2 separate regions of the Homo sapiens genome follow, and region 1 is linked to region 2. Evidence: promoter capture Hi-C in human tissues and cell types (Jung and others, 2019). All regions are on one chromosome and are shown on one strand. Each heading gives the region's core, a stretch centred on a gene start or on the middle of the fragment in contact. The rest is flanking DNA. Distances are from core to core; before and after follow the strand shown. Region 1 has its middle 12 kb from the start of S100A7A. Region 2 holds the start of S100A7 (S100 calcium binding protein A7).

The links. The method cuts DNA at HindIII sites, captures the fragments that hold promoters and counts their contacts. A contact is called where the count stands out against the background at its distance.
Region 1: a contact is called between a fragment that was not itself captured here and the fragment with the promoter of S100A7 in region 2, in 20 of the 25 tissues and cell types used here (H1 embryonic stem cells, IMR-90 fibroblasts, adrenal gland and 17 more).

Annotation. Positions count from the first base shown.
Region 1 is chr1:153,402,666-153,406,953 of GRCh38, forward strand. It overlaps a transcript of S100A8 not described here. Among named protein-coding and RNA genes, the nearest start is that of S100A7A, 12 kb to the right of the region's middle. The HindIII fragment of the contact is 3,683 bases long and covers 595-4,277 here.
Region 2 is chr1:153,459,182-153,462,926 of GRCh38, forward strand. It overlaps S100A7 (S100 calcium binding protein A7), which reads right to left and starts at 1,470. Exons shown (of 3, transcript NM_002963.4): 1 at 1,427-1,470. The HindIII fragment of the contact is 11,087 bases long and covers 1-3,745 here.

The sequences.
Region 1 (4,288 bases), core at 1,186-3,685, 56 kb before region 2:
TACATGCTATTGTAAAGCTGATAGTTCTCCCAAACGTAACCTATAGATTCAGTGCAATCCCAGTCCCAAAGTCCTTGCTGGAATTTTTGTAGAAATTGACAAGTTAACTGTAAAAAGTATATAGACAGGCCAAGAATAGCCAAGGGAATCATGAAAAAGAAAAGACATGGGAGGATCTACAGTACTAGATGTTAAGATTTATCATAACAGCTCCGGTAACTAAGATACTGCCTGGCTGGTTCAAGGACAGTCACATAGATCAACAGAACTAAATAGAGGTCTGAGAAAAAGACACACACGTATGGTATATTTATTCTGTGACAAAAGTGGCACTGCTGAGCACAAGCTTTTCAATACATTTTACTGGATCAACTGGATGCTCATGCTCATGAAACTAGACCACACAAGCAGACAAAATGACAATTCCAAGTGGATTGTAGGTCTAACTGTGGAAAGTAAAGTCATAAAGCCTCAGTAGCATATGCAAAGATATTCAAGACCTCAGTCTTGAAGATTTACTTCTATATTTTCTTCTAAGAGTTTTAGTTTTAGCTCTTATGTGTAGGGCTGTGACCTATTCTGAGTTAATTTGTGTGTATGAAGGAAGGAAGGGGTCCAGCTTCATTATTTTGCATGTGGCTGTCCACTTGTCCCAGCATCATGTGTTGGAAAGACTATTCTTTCTCCATTGAATTGGCTTGGCGGGCTTGTTGAAAATCAATTGACTGTGAATGTGAAGGCTGAGAACACTTTATCATGAACTGTTAGCTTCACCTATGTAAAGATATCTTCTCTCTGCTCTACCTCCTGTCGAAATCTGACACGACTCTTGCTCAAAACAAGCTTTGTTTCCTGAGTTCCGTGGCCTTGTCTCATGTGGAGCAATCATGTCACATTAACCCCCTCCCCACCCCCACTCCACGTCCACCCTGTGGGCCACGGCCCTGCCCTTTCCCAGCTGTTTTATGATCTGCTTTTTCAATTAGGACTATGTTTAAAACATCTCCCCAGTTCTTAAATATTTTTGAGTGATTGATTCCAAATAGCTACATTATATGGAATTCCAGAACCATTCTGACTAACAACACTTTTGACGCCAAATGTGTGGGGGTTATATTTCCTTTTTTTAAAATCCCCACACCAACCAATTCTCCAACACTCTGAACACCATCGGGGTATCGTGCAATTCCGTTCTGATCCTAACTACCAAGAGTTAGCACAGACCCCACAAGGTGAAGGCTCAGCCCCACAACACTGCCCCCACTGCAGATGCCAATCGCAGCACCTGACCGCCCATACTTCTGACTGACTGGCTAAAATTGGAGGTTCCTACAAACCCCCTCCTCAGGTTAGATAATCTGCTACAAGAGTTCACAGGACTCAGGGAGGCACTTTACTCATGATTACTGGTTTATTACAAAGAGTACAACTCAGGAAAAGCCACGTGGAAGAGACACACAGGGCCATGTATGAGGGGCAGCATGGAGCTCCCAGGCCCACTCCAGGAGCCCACCCTTCCGGCACCCCACCTGCTCAGCAGCCCTACAGTTCTCTGAACCCCATCGTTTGGGGTTTCTATGGCAGTCACTTCATTTAGGCATAGTTGATTAAATAATTGGCCACTGGTGATTGAAGTCCTTCCCCAGCCGCTCTGTGGAGGCCCAGTGTGGGGCTGAAAGCTCCAGCCCTCTAATCACATGGTTGCTTCCTCTGGCAACCAGCCCCATCCTGAAGCTATCTAGGGGTCCACCAAGAGTCACCTCATTAGCACACACTCAGCATGACTGGAAGGGGATTGTTATGAATAACAAAAGATGCTCCCTCTCCCCTGTCATTCAGGAGATTCCAAGGATTTCAGACGCTCGGTGTCAGGAACAGGGACAAAGACCAAATGTCCATTTCGTATCATCACAGGGATTCCATGTGTATAGGCATCAAGATTTACTTAACCCACCATTACTAAAAATTTAATTATTTTTATCTCTTCCTGTTTCTACCACTTGATTAACAATTGTGTCCCCAATATACTATTTTATGCAGTGTCCTCTGGTAAGCATTGGAGAGAGAAAAGAATACAAATTAAGTAAGAAAAGCCCTCTGCCTTTCAGAAGCTTTTGGTGAAGATCTCTTTTTTTAACAGGTGCAAGATTGGTGCCCGACGTGGGACTCACAACCTACAGAAGGGCGGGAACCACGAAGGACCCAGCCACGTGGTACTGCCTCCGGCGACAACCAGGGCGAGGTGGGTGCTCGGTGGCGCCACCGTGTGGAAGCTTGGGAAACAGAAAACCAATTCTCTGCACTCAGGGCCAGAGTTTTGTCCTGGGCCTCTGACTGGGGCCAACTGTAACAGGAACAGCCCTTACAGTGTAAGTCAGAATCCTACAGTCCTCCTTGGCCAAGGAGCCTTCCTGGAGTCCCCCCCACCCCGCACTGCTTTCTCCAGCTTGCCAGTTTTACCTACACGGCCCAGCCTCGTCTTAAAATTGGGCGAGATGAGGAATGATCATTGCCAACTTGAAATTTGGTTGAACAGATACATTTCTCAGGGTACGCTTGGGTCACTTCCTAGCACTGTCTGTGTATGCGGCCTCCGAGAAAGCAACCTCCCTTATCAGGCTAACAGAATTGACAGTAAATCCTCCCAGCAAACCCATTCGACAGGATGGTGGGTGTTAGTCCAAACTGCACCATTTTGTAAGCCCCCTGCCATTTTGCGGACCCTGGTCAGAGTGAAACATTCCATGTGGATTCAGGCCGTGAGAAACATCCTGCCTAACCACCTGACCGCAAGGCACAAGAGCATCCTTATCATACCCTGCTGGGCAAAGGCGCAACTGAAGGAACATCCCCATCATATCCTGCGGGGCAAAGGTCCAAGAAACAGCCTATCACATCCCGCTGGAAAAAGGTCCAAACCGCCTGATCACAGGAACATCTTATCAATATCCTCCCGGCGAGCTAGCCATACTGCCCAGACCCCCACCTAGACCTATAAATTACCCCAGCCTGTAAGCGGCAGGGGGCTCTGGCATTAAGCTTGTCCCCCACCTCCTCAGGTCTTGTGCTGGACATAAAACCTGCATTTCCATAGAGCCACCAACTCTCTCTGTGTCTTTTTTTAACCCTTGCCTTCCCTTCAAAACCTAACAGTGGGACCACAGGCTCTGGGCTGCAGCTGGGTGTTCTCATCCTCCAGTGTGGATGGCTCACAGCAGAACTGAGTCCTAATAACCTCTTGTGAATGCTGCAGAACTCTCTCTCTGTCTCTCTGTCCCGCTCCCCCAACTGCTGCACGAGTCCAGAGATGCAGCTGGCCAGCACCACCCAGAAGGACCCCAAACAGAACAGCTGGCTGTCTTGGAACATTCCCGTGGCTCCCTCTGCCCTGTCCCTCTCACCGTGGCTCCTGGAAGTGCTCTATGGCCTATTGAAAGGATGCCCCTACAAAGCTTCCCCTGGTTCCCCCACCTGAAAAGTGATTTCTCCTCTTCCAAATTCCCACACACTTTATCTGAACCTTTTTGAAGACACCTGCCTCACTTGCTAGTTTGGCCAATGTTTATGGAGTTCTCTGCACTGGAGGCTGGGGGCACAATATAAGACATGGCTGGGCGGCAGCAAACATAGCATATGTGTGGCCAGGGCTGTCACTGAGACATGCAGGGACATGGGGATGATGGCTCTGCCTGGAGAAGGCTTCACAGAGAAAGTGACCACTGAACTGCCTGGGGACCTGGGGGCTTCCGGGCTCTGTCCCACTCTACTCTCTCACCACCCAGTGCCTTATATTGGAGTTCTCTCCTGGGGCCAGAGCATTGCTCAAAGCATGGTCCACATCCACTCCATCTCCCTGCCACCCTGACACCTGCACACCCAGAACAGAGTCAGCACTCACAGCATAAATGAATGGATAAAATACAGCAAAAAGAACAAATTGCTTTCTGTCCTCTTCCCCCAGCAACTTGAGATCTTCTAGAGACCCAGGAGTATGTTGCTTCTACTTCAGGCTGGGGAGAGGCGAGCTCCCCAAAACGATAGAGGAGATGAAGATATCAACCAGCCAAATTCCTGTTCACAATCAGCCTGTTGTGAGCTCTCCTGGGGGATCAGCAGTGGCTGGGAGGTTGGATGTGTGATAGGATGGGGTGGGTTTATGGAGAGTGTTTGTTCCAGACATGACACAGGGGAAAGGCTCACAGGGTTCAACCTGATGAGCAGGTGCAAAAGATAAGGCCCCTATTAAAGCTAATTTGCTAAGATTTTGATTTTAGCAAAAACAAATGAT
Region 2 (3,745 bases), core at 220-2,719:
GCTCAAAAATGAGAGGGTAGGACCAAGTCTGAGACCTGGCCCATCCTGGCCAGGGCCAAGAGGAGATGCAGGTGGATGGCGGAAGTCCAGCTGTGGACAGTGCTTCAGAGAGGGAGAAGCAGGGAGAGTCGGGCGCCAGCAACACATGGAAGAACTAAGCTGGGACACCCCAGCCTCAGCCAGCACATGGCAGACCCCACTCTTAAAAGAGCACCAAATCCATCTCCTCCAGCTTCACAGTCGGGGTGACAGTCATGGGGGCAGGACAATGGCCTTGGTGATCTGGTGTCTGACCCTCCTCGGCTGCTTCAGGAACCAGACACCGTGGGCCCCACCTTGACTCAAGTGCAAGCCCTGCATGACACGGTGTGTGCAGGCTCCAGGTGCACATGTGAGCGTGGACGTGAGTGTTAGCAGGAAACACAGTCCTGTCCCGAGCACAGGGGGCCCTTCTTGTATTCCCTTGGGAACGAGAAACAGGAATGGCCTCTGTTACAAGGAACAGAAATAACTCTCTGGTTCTTAAGCTGCTGGACGGGGTGGGAGTGAGGTGGGAGTCACTTCATGTCTGCTCTTGGGAATTATCTGCACCCTCTGAATCACCAAGCCTTGACTGTTTAAATAAAAATGTCTGACTTCCCAAAGCAGATCTTTCAGCCAGTAGTCAGTCTGGGCTGGCCTGCACCCCAAGCCTGAAAAATAGGACAGTGCAGTTCTCACTTCCCACACTTTCCAAAGAACCAGGAAAGGACCTTGGCTAATGCATATGGGTGTCTGACAATAAACCCCCAACACCTCTCAATGCAGGAGAAAGCTCCATGCCGGCAACTGACTAAGAGGAGCCACCCAGAGCTTTTTTGAATCTGAGGCCAAGGCCAGAGGGCAAGCCCTGTGCCCAGAGGGTGACTGACAATTTGCAGGTTGTGGTAGGGAGTGACGGAGCGTTGGTTTCTCAATACCTTACCCAGGTAGGGGCAAGCCATCTGGCCAGGGCTATGCTGTGTCGGGGTCCCAGGCCTGGGGGTTTGGAGAGCCTCCAAAGCATTCACAGGGGACCCCTAGCCCTCCACCCTCTGTGGAGCTGGAGCTGGGGAGGGGATTTAGCAACCGGGACCCCAACAGGAGGATGAATCCAGGGAGGAAGAGGACAGGGAGGGTCCTGTGCTCAGGTCCCACTGGGGACATTTCCACAGGAGTTGCCTCAGGAGATCCCAAAGGAGCAATGGACAGGTCTGGTTCAGCCACCTGGTTATACAGACGTGGGCTTTTGGGGTCAAGTGAAGGTCACACAGCCCAGCTAATGGCAGAGCTGGCCTAGACCCAGGCTTCTGAGTCTTTGTCCACAGCCCTTTCCCTTCCTACAGGCAGCATGGCAGGCCAGGCACTGGGCACTTCTAGAAAACGCAAAGAGGCAGGTGAGACTTACCAGAGCTGGGAAGCGTCACGAGTAGAAGGATGAGTGAGATGTGTGTGTTTGGACAAAGAGCAGTCCTTTATAAGGCTCAGCCTGGCTCTTCCCAGGGGCTGGGAGGCCTGGGGCCACCTCTGTCATCTGTTTCTTGGAGGCTTGCCCCACATCAGGTGGGTGGGACACACCCAGGAGGCTGTGCTCAGGATTTCTGGCCAGTGTCCCAGGTCACCAGGTCCCACCCCACCCCAGAGACCTCACCTGGAGTCTTCTCTGGCTCAACCTTGATTTGAGGGTAAGGCAGCGGTACATGTGTAGTAGCAGGTCAGAAAATGGGAGAAAAGAGCACTGGGCCTCTGGACCCAAAGAGGATGGAGTTTCAGACTCCTGAAGGCAGCATGGTCTTGTTTGTTCCCTCCCCTTATCCTTCCACACATTTGTTATGACAGCCTGTTCTATGACCCCCACCGCTGACTGAGCATTTTAATGTCTAGATATCAAGATACCTGCTGCTCCTGCATCCTCCTCAACCCTCATAGTCCTAAGAGGTGCTTCAATCTCTATTTTAGGAAAGGAGAAGTTGAGATGTTCCCAAGTTTACTCAGCTAGTAAACACAACAAATCATTATATGGACTCAGAAAAGCCTGAATCAAATCCTTACTCTTATCCCCTGTGCTATAGGTCTTGGGTCACATCAGGGTCTGCCCTATGGGAACTCAAAGTCCAGGGAGGGAAGCAGGGTTACTTCATTGCTAACCATTGGTCAGCCCCTCACAGAAGCCCTGGAATTAGGTGGGGGGACTGGGGTCAGGGGCCTCACTATCTAGGTTGAGTGGTGGAGTGACCCCCCCATGGAATGAGCCTGGAGGCAGGGAGTGGGAAAAGTTCTTTCCTGCCCCATGGCACTAACTTCCCAGAAAGTCTTCAGTGTTTTTCCTCCTCCTATGCAAAACAGCCTGTGTAGGAGTTGGGAGTTGTGCCCTTGGCTATAATGTGCCCTAACCTGCTGTGGAAAGGCTGACCCAGGTAGGGGCAAGAGGGTTGGGAAGGCATGGGAATCCCTGGGGCATGGTGAGGAAAGGGAGATGATGAATCACTGAAATGGACTTTTTCTGCTACCCCCTTGCAATGTTCCTTTTAGGGTGCAAGAGAGTTCCAGGTTCATTTAGTGCCAGCCCTTTAAGCACTCTGGGGCTCCACAGAGCTGATGTGATGTCTCCCTAGGTGGGACCTATTTTCTCCACCCATCATCTTTCTTCAACTTCCTTCTCGTCAGTACCTATGTAACCAGGGGGACCTGTTTCTCCCTCTCCCAGTTCCCCATGTGATGGCAATATTACTTTTAACAGCAAAAGATACATACACACACACACAGTGGAATGCTACTCAGCTATAAAAAAAGAATGAAATCACGCTTTTTGCGGCAACATGGATGGAACTGGAGGCTATTATCTTAAGTGAAATTACTCAGAAAGTCAAATACTGTGCAACCTCATGTGTAAGTGGGAGCTACATCATGCATACAGATGGAGGTAGAGAGTAGAATCATAGACACTGGAGACTGTGAAGGGCAGCAGGTGAGGCGGTGGGTGAAGGATGAGACATTTCTTAGTGGGTACAATGCATGCTATTTAGGATGGCTTCATTAAAAGCCCAGACTTCACCATTGTGCCATATATTCATATATATGTGTATGCAGGTTTTTGTGTGGACATAAGTTTTCACTTCTTTTGGGTAAATCCCAAGGAGTGTGATTTCTGGATCCTATGGTAAGAGTATGTTTAGTTTTTTAAGAAAGCACTAAACTGTCTTCCAAAGTGGCTGTACTATTTTGTGTTCCTGCCATCAATGAATGAGAGTTCCTGTTGCTCCACATCCTTCTTCAGCATTTGCTGTTGTCCAGTGTTCCAGATTTTGGGCATTCTCATAAGTGTGTACTGGTATCTCATTGTTGTTTTAATTTGCATTTCCTTGAGGACATATGATGTGGAGCATCTTCTGATATGCTTATTTGTCACCTTCTGTATCTTCTTTGATGAGATATCTGTTAAGGTCTTTGGCCCATTTTCTAATTGTTTGGTTTGTGTTCTTATCGTTGAGTTTTAAGAGTTCTTTGTATGTTTTGGATAACATACAAAGTCTGATATGTCTTTTGTAAACATTTTCTCCCAGTCTGTGGCTTATCTTTTCATTCTCTTGACAATATCTTTCACAAAGAGAAATGTTAAATTTTAAAGAAGTCCAGCTTATGAATTCTTTCTTTCATGGATTGTGCCTTGGTGTTGCCATCTAAAAGTCATCACCAAAACCAAGATGATCAAATTTCCTCTTATGCT